Linked DNA regions of Homo sapiens: region 2 is linked to region 1. Evidence: promoter capture Hi-C in 16 types of primary human blood cells and fetal thymus (Javierre and others, 2016). All regions are on one chromosome and are shown on one strand. The core of a region is centred on a gene start or on the middle of the fragment in contact, and the rest is flanking DNA. Distances in the headings are between cores, read along the strand shown. Region 1 holds the start of SMG6 (SMG6 nonsense mediated mRNA decay factor). Region 2 overlaps SMG6 (SMG6 nonsense mediated mRNA decay factor).

Evidence for each region. Contacts are between HindIII fragments. The CHiCAGO score rates a contact against its expected background, and 5 or more counts as called.
Region 2: a contact is called between a fragment that was not itself captured here and the fragment with the promoter of SMG6 in region 1, in 1 of 17 cell types (activated CD4 T cells). The highest score is 5.2, in activated CD4 T cells.

What each region holds. Positions count from the first base shown.
Region 1 is chr17:2,301,935-2,307,559 of GRCh38, reverse strand. SMG6 (SMG6 nonsense mediated mRNA decay factor) reads left to right here and starts at 3,775. Exons shown (of 19, transcript NM_017575.5): 1 at 3,775-3,927. The coding sequence starts at 3,840. SRR (serine racemase) reads right to left here and starts at 3,610. Exons shown (of 8, transcript NM_021947.3): 1 at 3,543-3,610. It also overlaps the pseudogene HNRNPA1P16. RefSeq lists silencers at 3,526-3,745, 3,936-4,145 and enhancers at 3,647-4,373, 4,703-5,517. The HindIII fragment of the contact is 10,069 bases long and covers 1-5,625 here.
Region 2 is chr17:2,178,866-2,184,649 of GRCh38, reverse strand. The region is part of intron 12 of SMG6 (SMG6 nonsense mediated mRNA decay factor); the gene reads left to right. Among named protein-coding and RNA genes, the nearest start is that of SMG6-AS1, 92 kb to the right of the region's middle. RefSeq lists an enhancer at 3,655-5,784. The HindIII fragment of the contact is 4,942 bases long and covers 1,196-5,784 here.

The sequences.
Region 1 (5,625 bases), core at 2,526-5,025:
ATTGTTGTAATTGCCAAAATCATTGTAGCTTCCACCTCCAAAATTGCTTCCATCATTACCAAATCCATTATAGCCATCCCCACTGCACGATATCCACCACCACCACAGCTGCCACCAAAGCCACCATGACCACTGAAATTTCCTTCACAACCAAAGTTGTCATTCCTACCGAAACCACCTCCACGACCACCACCAAAGTTTCCAGAAGTACTTTGACCTCTTTGGCTGGATGAAGCACTCACCATCTCTTGCTTTGACAGGCCTTTCCTAATTTCACAGTTGTGGCCATTCACAGTATGGTATTTCTGAATGACAGTCTTATCCACGGAGTCATGATCATCAAAGGTTACAAAGGCAAAGCCCCTTTTCTTGCCACTGCCTTGGTCAGTCATGATTTCAATCACTTCAGTTTTTCCATACTGTTCAAAATAATCACTTAGGTGATATTCTTCAGTGTCTTCGTTAATGCCACCAACAAATATCTTTTCCATAGTTAAGTGGGCATCTGGTCTTTGAGAATCTTCTCTTGAGACAGCTCTCTTTGGTTCCACAACTCTTCCATCCACCTTGTGTGGCCTTGCATTCGTGGCTGCATCCACCTCCTCCTCAGTGGCATATGTGGCAAATCCAAAGCCCCTGGAGTGCTTGGTGTTTGGATCTCTCATTACCACACAGTCCGCGAGTGTTCCCCATTGCTCAGAATGGCTCCTCAGGCTCTCATTGGTTGTTTCAAAGCTCAGCCCTCCAATGAAGAGCTTCTTCAGCTGTACGAGCTCTTTAGGAGACTCTGACTTAGACTTGGCGGTGTCCATGGGTGGAAAGTGTTTGTTTTGTTTTATTTTTGAGACAGAGTCTCTATCTGTCACCCAGGCTGGAGTGCAGTGGCGTGATCTCGGCTCACTGCAGCCTCTACCTCCTTGGTTCAAGTGATTCTCCTGCCTCAGTCTCCCAAGTAGCTGGGATTACAGGCACCCACCACCACGCCCGGCTAGTTTTTGTATTTTTAGTAGAGACGGGGTTTCGCCATGTTGGCCAGGCTGGTCTCGAACTCCTGACCTCAAGTGATCTGCCCACCTTGGCCTCCCAAAGTGCTGGGATTACAGGCATGAGCCACGGGGCCTGGCCTAAAATTGTTGTTTTTAAAAAAATTCCAAATGGTTAGAATGTTTTGCTTCATTTGTGGCTATTCACTTCTAGTTTTATTACTTTGTGCTAAGTAAATATGACCTGTACAATTTTTTTTTTTGACGGAGTCTCACTCTGTCGCCCAGGCTGGAGTGCAGTGGAGCAATCTCGGCTCGCTGCAACCTCTGCCTCCCAGGTTCAAGCAGTTCTCCTGCCTGAGCGTCCCAAGTAGCTGGGACTACAGGTGCCCGCCACCACACCCAGCTAATTTTTTTGTATTTTAGTAGAGATGGGGTTTCATCTTGCCCAAGCTGGTTGGGAACTCCTGAGCTCAGGCAATCTGCCCACCTCGGCCTCCCAAAGTGCTGGGATTACAGGCGTGAGCCACCGCGCCCGGCCAACTTGTACAATTTTTACTTTTAGAAACTGAATTCAAGGCTGGGCGCGGTGGCTCACGCCTGTAATCCCAGCACTTTAGGAGGTTGAGGCGGGTGGATCACCTGAGGTCAGGAGTTCGAGACCAGACTGGTCAACATGGTGAAACCCCATCTCTACTAAAAATACAAAAAATTAGCTGGGCATGGTGGTGGGCGCCTGTAATACCAGCTACTCAGGAGGCTGAGGCAAGAGAATTGCTTGAAACCAGGAGGCAGGTTGCAGTGAGCCAAGATTGTGCCACTGCACTCCAGCCTGGGCAACAAGAGTGAAACTCCGTCTCAAAAAAAACGAAAAACAAAAAATCTCAGCAGCTTTCATTGTGATACTGACTTAAATATGGTTGTCTTTCTTGTCATTTCTTTTTACCTGGTATTTCATGAATTCTTTAAATCTGATAATTCAAAAATTTCCACCAACGTAGTAAATTTTCTTCTACTATTTGATTATTGCTCTTCTGCAGTCAGCTGTATTATCCCCTTCTGGAACTCGTATTTAATTATTAATTTTTTGTACCCCTTCTCCATGTCTCCTATCTTTGTCTCTCAGTTTTTATCTATTACCTTTTCCTTCTGAGTTCTGGTAAATTTTCTTGAACTGGTTTAACTTTTGGCATATCTAATCTGCAGTTCACTGACACTGTTGCATTAAATGGGTGGTGCCATTTGTCCTAAGAAAGTTTTCTTGTTTTCCATTATTTTTCCAGCTGAAAAAAGAAATCATGCAATGGCCTCTCAAATTTCAATATGAAACAGATTATTTTTTAACGCTTCTTCCTATTTCTCTCAAATCTGGTGGCAAAGGCTGTCTTCTGCTCTGACCACTCAAATGGTTCCTCTTCTGAACTGTTGGATCTTTTCACCCATCATCTACTGACTTTCTTCTTATGCTTAACCTTCCGGTGACAAAGTGTCACGTAAAAGGAACTGAAGGAGTTCTGTCAGAGGTTGTGGCAATCCCTTCGGCTCAGACTAAGGAATAATTGGTAACTATTCTGTGATGGGTGTGGGGTAAAAGCCTATGGGGCTGTGGAGGGGCAACAGGTGGAGGCAGGAGGCCTTGGGGAAGGGAGCTTCACCTCTGTACAGTTCTCCAAAAAAAGATTCAAGTACCAGCCTTCTGGTATAGTTCAATTTTAAAGATGGGAAATTAAAAAGTCAACCTGAGATCCACAGCAGTAATTTTTTTCAAGAATCCATAGTGACACAGAAATTCCCAAATTGACTTTTTTTTTTTTTTGAGGCGGAGTCTCGCTCTGTTGGAGACTCCCGGGCTGGAGTGCAGTGGCGCGATCTCGGCTCACTGCAGTCTCCGCCTCCCGGGTTCAAGCGATCCGCCCGTCTCAGCGTTCCGAGTCGCCGGGATTACAGGTCCCAAATGGACTTATATGCCTCCTGATGTACTTCCTTCCACACGATTCCAACTATATCGTATCTAGTTTTTAAAAGTCAGGGGGCGGCCGGGCGCGGTGGCTCACGCCTGTAATCCCAGCACTTTGGGAGGCCGACGCGGGTGGATCACCTGAGGTCAGGAGTTCGAGACCAGCCTAGTGAAACCCCGTCTCTACAAAAAATACAAAAATTAGCCGGGCTTGGTGGCGTGCACCTGTAATCCCAGCTACTAGGGAGGCTGAGGCAGGAGAATCGCTTGAATCCAGGAGGCAGAGGTTGCAGTGAGCCGAGACCGCGCCACTGCACTCCAGCCCGGGAGTCTCCAACAGAGCGAGACTCCAACTAAAAAAAAAAGGGAATAGTAACAACTACTCTTAGCAGATCTTCAAGGTCCCAAGTAATGGCCCGCGGCGCTAGGCCGGGCCTGTGGCGGGAGAGCCTGGCCTAAGGTGTCCAGAGGAGCCCAGGCTGAGGGGTGTCTCTGTCAACCCGAGTCCCAGACTAGCAGTGTCCTTGGTGTCCACGACAACAGCAACGGCAGCCACCGCCGCAAACGCCCGCCTGGCCTGGCACGGCCCGGCCTCGCCTCACCTCAGCTCACCGGCGCCGCGCCTCCAGCTCCAGCCTCCGCGCGCCTCCCCGGCCGCACCTCTGCGCACGCGCAGCGCCCGCCCGCCCCACCCAGGCTCTCGCTCCGGTCCCGCCCCTCTGGAACCGGCGGCGGGCGCTTTTCCTCCCAGCGCGGCCACCGTCGTTCGGAAAGGGAGGGCGGCAGGGGGCGGGGAAAGGCCGGGAGGTGGGCGAGCGCGCGCGCCGCCCGTCTGTGGTGGTTTCCTGGCTGCGCGCGGCGGTGGCGGAGCCGCTACGGCTGTAGCAGCAGCCGCGAAGATGGCGGAAGGGCTGGAGCGTGTGCGGATCTCCGCGTCGGAGCTGCGCGGGATCCTGGCTACTCTGGCCCCGCAGGCCGGGAGCAGAGGTGAGTCGCGCCGCCCAGCTCCTGGGCCGGGCCTGCCCGCCCCGCCTCCCTCTCCTCCTCCTCTGCCTCCTCCCCGCTCGGCCCTCGGCTCCGGAGCCCCCGCCCCTTCCCCCAGCAGTAGGCGCTGGGGCCGCGGCGGACCCTCGCTGCCCTACCTCTCTCGCGGGTTAGTGCGGGGTCGGGCTCGGCCAGTCCTGGCCAGCTCCGGGAGAGCCTGGCCCGAATTCCTGCCTCCACCCTCTTTCTCGCCGCGAAGGTGACTGTTCCTTTTGCCCCAGCCCTCTCAGACCCGCCCCGGATTCCCAGGCATCGGGAGACGCGGAAAGGAGTGGGGTCTGGTGGAGGCCCCGGGCGTATCGCTCTCCAGGCCGCCCTCCGCGGGCCTGCCCCGGCCACCGCTTTAACGTCGGAGAGAAGGAATTGGGGAGAAAGGTTTAAGAGCCTGCGACTTCGTTGCTGAACTTTTCCCCCCCAAGACAGGCTTCCGAAAGCTGCGCCACTGGAGGGATCCGGGACCTCAGACTACTCGGGTTTGGCCCTGGCATGTGTGGGAGCAGTTTTTATTAGAGAGAATGCTCAATTTGCAAGTTAATTTCAAGTCTCCAGCCACGTCAGGAAAGTAAGAAAGATTCTAAGTGTCTCACCTCTCCTGCGTTAGGCAATAGAGTTGTGTAGAATGGTAGCTGTGATAGGTGCCTTCTCTAGGTTTGCGGCCAGTCTGTGAAATTGGTTTTTGTTGATTAACATAATTGGATTATTAAGGCTATTTTCTCCCGCTGCTCTAGAAAGTAGTAGGAATAGCTTTCCCCATCCCCCCGCCCCCCACCAAGTTACAGACTGCCGAGGGTGAGCTATTCTTGGGTTAAACTGCTTTATCTTTGTGGATACTTCATGAACCTACCTTTTAAACTTATGAAAATAGTGAAGCACTATCCAAAACCTCAGTCTCTTTTCTTCCCCTTTTCCTTACACCTACAAACAGTAAATGTACTTGCTGGAGCATATGATTCCTGTTTTGGGCTTGTTTCCATTTATATTTAGAGAGCAATACTAGGATTAAAAACTTTTTTATTGTTGTTATTATTATTTTTTGAGACGGAGTCTAGCTCTGTCGCCCAGGCTGGAGTGCAGTGGCGCGATCTCTGCTCACTGCAACCTCCGCCTCCCGGGTTCACGCCATTCTCCTACCTCAGCCTCCCCAGTAGCTTGGACTGTAGGCGTGTGCCACCACGCCTGGCTAATTTTTTGTATTTTTGTAGTGACGGGGTTTCTCCGTGTTGGCCAGGATGGTCTGGACTCCTGTCCTCGTGATCCGCCCGCCTTGGCCTCCCAAAGTGCTGGGATTACAGGCGTGAGCCACCGTGCCCGGCCAATTTTTTTGAGGCAGGGTCTCACTCTGTCTTCCAGGCTGGAGTGCAGTGGAGGGATCTCAGCTCACTGTAGCCTCCCCCTCCTGTGCTCAAGTGATCCTCCCACCTCAGCCTTCCGAGTAGCTGGAATTACAGACCTGCACCACCACACCTGGCTATTTTTTGTATACGTTATAGAGACAGGGTGTTGCCATGTTGCCCAGGCTGATCTCGAACTCCTGGCCTCAAGCAGTCCTCCCGCCTCAGCCTCCCAAAGTGCTGGGATTATAGGCGTGAGCTACTGCACCTGGCCTATGCTAGGATTTTATATAGCATTCCATTTGTGTAC
Region 2 (5,784 bases), core at 2,417-4,916, 120 kb after region 1:
GTTTTGCTCTTGTTGCCTGGGCTGGAGTATAATGGCGCGACCTCAGCTCACTGCATCCTCAGCCTCCCATGTTCAAGCAGTTCTCCTGCCTCAGCCTCCCAAGTAGCTGGGACTACAGGCATGTGCTACCACACCCAGCTAATTTTTTATTTTTAGTAGAGATGAGGTTTCACTATGTTGGCCAGGCTGGTCTCAAACTCCTGACCTCAGGTGATCTACCCACCTCAGCCTCCCAAAGTGCTGGGATTACAGGTGTGAGCCACCCCATCTGGCCCTTTTTTTTTTTCCCCCCAGAGTCTTGCTCTGTTGCCCAGGTTCAAGTGCAGTGGCATGATCTCAGTTCACTGTAGCCTCTGCCTCCTGGGTTCAAGTGATTCTCCCACCTCAGCCTCCCAAGTGGCTGGGATTACAGGTATGAGCCACCAGGCCTGGCTAATTTTTTTATGTTTAGTAGAGATGGGGTTTCACCATGCTGGTCAGGCTGGTCTCAAAACTCCTGCCCTCCAGTGGTCCACCCGCCTCAGCCTCCAGAAGTGCAGGGATTACAGGCGTGAGCCACCACATCAGACCAGTGTATCTGTCTGTGTCTGTGCTGATTCTGGGTCCATGTCAGTCTGTGTCTGTGTCTGGGTCTGTGAGTATGTGTTCCTGAATGTCTGTGTTGTGTCCATGTTTGTGTGTAACTATGTCTCTGTATGCCAGTCTGGATCTCTCTGTTAGAGGGGGTTTCTGTGTATGTGGGTCTTCCTGTATCTGCCTGCCTTGCCTTTTACCTACCTGTCTGTCTGTCTGTCCTGGCCTGTCTCTGCCTGCCTGCCTCTGTCTTTCTCTTTGCCTCTGCTTTCGTCTGCCTCTGCTGTGTGTGTGTGTGTGTGTGTGTGTGTGTGTGTGTGTGTGTGTGTGTCGCACGCACCTGTATCAGGGATCAGCATACCATGGCCCACAAGCTAATAATGGTTTACATTTTTAAATGGTTAAACAAAAAATCAAACGAGTACTATTTCATGACTCATGAAAATTGTATAAAAGTCAGATTTTAGTGTCCATAAAGTTGATTGGAATATAACCATGCTTACTTGTTTACACTGTGTCTATGGCTGATTTCACATTACAGAGCAGAGTTGAGTAGTTGCCACAGGCTGTATGGTTCACACGGCCTGGAATATTTGCAGTTTAGCTCATTACAGAAAAAGCTTGCTGACTTCAATCTCTGTCCATGTTCCATGTGTCACATTCTTCTTTGTGTTAGTGTCACTGTGTGTGTTCATGTTTGTACAACTGTGCGTGTAGGCTCCATCTCTGTTCAGCCCTGTTCACTATTCATCTCTCCCTCCTGCTCACTTTAATTTTTCCCTCCCTCCCTCCCTTCTTTCTTTTTTCTTTCTTTTTCCTTCTTCCCTCCCTTCCTGCCTTCCTACCTTCCTTTCCCAGGGTCTCGCTCTGTTACCCAGGGTGGACGGCAGTGGCACGATCACAGCTCGCTGCAGCCTCGACCTCCTGGGCTCAGGTGATTCTCCCACCTCAGTCTCCCAAGTAGCTGGGACTACAGGCATGCACCACCAACCCGGCTAACTTTTTGTATTTTTTAAATAGAGATGGGGCATTGTCATGTTGCCCAAGTTGGCCTTGATCTCCTGGGCTAAAGCGGTCTGCCTGCCTCGGCCTCCCACAGTGCTGGGCCTCTCTTTCTTATCTCTACTCTTCCTTAGTGTCTCTGTCTTTCTCTGTTTCACCCCTGCCCACCCCACCCCCCTGGCCATTTCTCGTTTCCCTCTTCCTTTTCTTCCCCTACCCCACATTCTCTCAGTGTGGTCTTCGGCTGGTGCTGTGTACCCAAAGCTCCTTCATGCTCTGTGTTATGCATTTATGTGTGTTTCAGAACAAGCATCTCCAGTGTTCTTCTCTGGAGAGAAGTAATGCTGGGGGATAGATTATGGAGACCCTGGCTACTTTGGAGGGCACTTTTGGGGAGTAGGGAGGGGAGCTTGTTTGACTTGGGGACCAGCCATGTGAGTCTCCTAGACTCATGGGTAACCTCCAGAGGGAAGGCTAAAGCAGAGATTTCTGGGCAGCAGTTTATGTGTGGACTGTGTAGTCTGATTCTTCCCCTTTTCTTTCTAAATTTTTTCCCTGTACTTGCCTCAAGATGTACCCCCTGGACTGTTATTAATCTCAGTCTCCCCATGCCCTCCCCACCTCTAGCTCTGTAACGGTGTGGGCGGCACTCACAGCATCGGACAGTTCTCTGCATCCTATCTGTGGGCCCTCCTAGGTTTCCAAAATGCACTCCAGGCTGAAGCCTTGGAGCTCCAAGCTGTGCAGCTGGGGCCACACAAAGGAACTGACGGATCTGCTGGCCAGGGGACAGCTGTTTCTCAGCAGTGATCCCCAAAGAGTTAACATCTACAGCCTCAAACTTTTCAGGCTATTAATCTGTAATGAGGACTAGGCAGTTTGCAGTTTTGGAACGAAAATGCCAAGAAAGGACTCAGTTCTCCAAGTATCTAAGCCACTGCTTCTGAGCATGCACAAGGGTCACTGAGTGTCCCTTCCTTACTCTCAGGGTGGGGAGGCAGACCATCTGTCCTTGGAGCCTGGGCCTTCCCCGGGTCACCTCACCTCACAACCACAGGTCTCTTAGATAGGATTCACACAGCCCCTGTTTACCCATATCCCGGGCCACAGGTCTGTTAGCTCTCTCACGCAGCATGTCTCCCTTCATCCCTCCTCCCTCTCTCACTCCCTTTTGGCTTTTGTTCGGCTGAGGAAATGGAAAGCTCACACAGGAAGTGCTGGGTCTCATTTGCTTGAGATGCTGAGTCTGTTTTCTCTTTGGATGCTGCAGCAAATGGCCCGTTGCCGGCTCTGAGCTGCTGCCCATCTTTGGGCAAGGGCTCAATCTACAGGCAGGCACGTGGTCCAAGCTACAGCCATCCCCGGCTGGGCTTCACATTCTGGGCTACAGAGAGGCAGAGGGGGTTGGGACATTTGAGTCATATTTGCTTAGTCTTCTCAGACTTCTTCACGAGGAGAGCAAATCTGACCAAATAGTATATTGAATTTAATTACCCAGCAAATACGTTACCGTAGCTGTGGATACCACTTACTCTCTCGTGAAGCCAGTCCGGGCTAGAGAGATAAAACAGTGTAATAGAGAAAAACATCTCCTTCTGTGCTCTCTTTCTTTCTCTCTCTGCAGTTAGGATCAGCAGCTGGTTATCTCTGGAATGCGAGTTTAAGCATGAAAGAGAGGCTTTGCTATCCTGGGGCCTGACCCCAAGGCATGGCTATTTAAGGACTGGTGCCCGCGTTCAACAGAGCAAACCTGGCCTGACTACCACTGAGGGTAGTCCCACCTCAGAGTCTTCAGATCAGAGGCCTGGAAAAGTGGAATCAGAATTGCACCTTCCTTCTTTTGTTTCCCATATTCTCATGTAGCTTCCTAATACTCACTGAGTAAATACTCTGGTTGAGAGATTGGCAAAGGTATGGTGCTTTTGTGGGTTTCAAACTTAATCTCATGCCCACTGACCTTACAGATTGAAGAGGCTTTTCTTTTAAGGTCATAGAGAATAACACACCCCAATGGTTCTGTAGATGCCAAAACTGTAACCCCCCTGACGCTTGTAAAGTCCTTGTTGCTGCTCATCGTTTTGAAGGGTTTGGAAATGCTCCCAAGGGAGCAGGAATGAAATGGCTGCTGTTTAGTGCCCCTTCTTGGCATGCTTTCATTGGTCTTTGCCTGAGTTTCTTCTTTGCAAAGATACATTTCTCTGATCCTAAGATAAGGTGACCAGAGAGCCTGTTTTTCCTACAAAGAGGAAGTCTCCTTTGCTTTTCCTCCAGAAACCCCACTTCCAAATGGTCCCTCTGACATGTGGGACCCTTCTTTCATCTCTCTTCCTTCATTCCCTCCCTGTCTTTAATTTGTTACCCTCTTTCCTTATGCAGTTAGAGAATCATTGCACAGCATCTTCCCCTCTCTGAGGGGAATTCCAGGGTTCATCTTGAGTTTCCTTGGTTCTCTCCTCTTTGCCCATGCTCCTCTTCCTTCCAGTCAAAACCACAACAGCAGGCACATGTGGAACACCTAGGATGATGATGAGAGTATCGTTGGCACTGCAGAGTGATGAGGGCAGGATTGCTGGGCATGTGGGCATGTGTGCCTTCCCTCGCTGTGGCACTTATTAGATCTGTGTGTTAGAGCCAGCATGGATGGAAGCAAGTTGACTCCCCAGTTGTACCCGTTAGGGATTGTAACAGAATGGCTTCATAATCCCAGGAGATTATTGGTATAGAGGATTATAGCAGGATGTGGAAAGTGGCCTGGGGCCACTGTGAAAGTCAATGTAGAGTGCTGGGTGTGTTTAGGACAGACTGCTTGGTTTGGAGGGCCCACCTACTTGCCCCATCTGCTAGCATAGTTTGTGTTCCCATCCACACCAAGCCTCTGGTGAGAAGGGAGAGGCAGCTGCACCCCTACTTCGGCAAGTGAGCACAAGGAAAGTCGTGCTGGAGAGGAGTAGAGCGACAGGCTTCATGGACCTGAGCATAGTGACCCCTTGCATCCCAGGACCTTTGGCAAGGCTAGGGCAGTGGGACAGCCTACCTCATTTCAGTCTCTGCTGAGGCCAAATCTTCACTTATCCTGATTTCTAGTTCTCAGTAAGTGAAAGAGTCAGGGGACTTTGAGAACATCCAAACCTAGCCCAGCTGTGGCAGTTGGTTTATTGCTTTCAGCTGGTACTTGAACCCAGGTCCTGGTCTTGGAGGCTTTCCCAGGTTTAATCCCCAGAGCTTTCTCTGCAGCTGTATGACACTGCGCTGACCCCGAATGAGGATAGGAAAATAGAACCAGTGCCAAGCCAGAGTCTCTTTTTCATTTGGAGTCTGGCTGTCTGCCCATGACCAGGGTTACATAATGGGAAACATAGCTGGGGCTCTGGAGAGCCCGCGTTTCACCAGGCTGCCCAGACCTTCGCATTCTGATGCTATATATCTTCCTAATTGTAGCTCGGATGCATTTATCACACTGTTGGATTGGAGTACTGTTTAAAAAAAAAAAAACTCTAGAAATTCTTGTACTTGCTGCTTTTCCATGGATCGTCTTCCATAGTCTACAGAGCACACTGGAGAAGGGTCGTAGGGAGCCCTCTGAGGTCTTGTCACATAGGGAGAAAGAGGGATACGTAGGGCGTATGCAGTAAGCTGACTTCCTTAGGGAGCTTCCATGTGTTGACTCTGTAGATGAGATAGAAATTCTCAAGTTAAAAAACAACTAGTTCACTCACCTTCATAGGGCAGCTCTGAAATAAGAACTAATCCCAAGGCTAATCGGCACCCCTTCAAGGACACTTAATATGCCTTCCCAAAAGGGCATTTTAGGAGGTCACTGAGTAATAGTCCATCAGCACTTCCCTGAAGGAAGTGGTGGTGGCTGTGGGAAGCCCCTTTGCTACCCTGGCTCCCCACCCAGTCTCCCTGGCTCCGGGTTGGGGCGTTAGCACTGCAGCCTGGCACCAGGGGGTTCCTCTTCCTCCAAGTGCTGAGTGTGGGGCACACGTGATCTCTCCCACGGCAGGAGCCCCTGTCCCCTCCCCACGCCTCCCGTAGGACTCCTTGTGAGAGGAAGGGGTGTTGGCCTAAGGCTCCAGTCTGACCCCAGCAGGGTACAGCAGCTGACCCCAGGGAGAGTACTTTCCAGCTCTGAGCTGAGGTTATTTGGGTCCAGTGTGTGCTAAGCTAAGAAGACGTGTTGGAGTGGTTACAGCTAAAAGTTTGGAG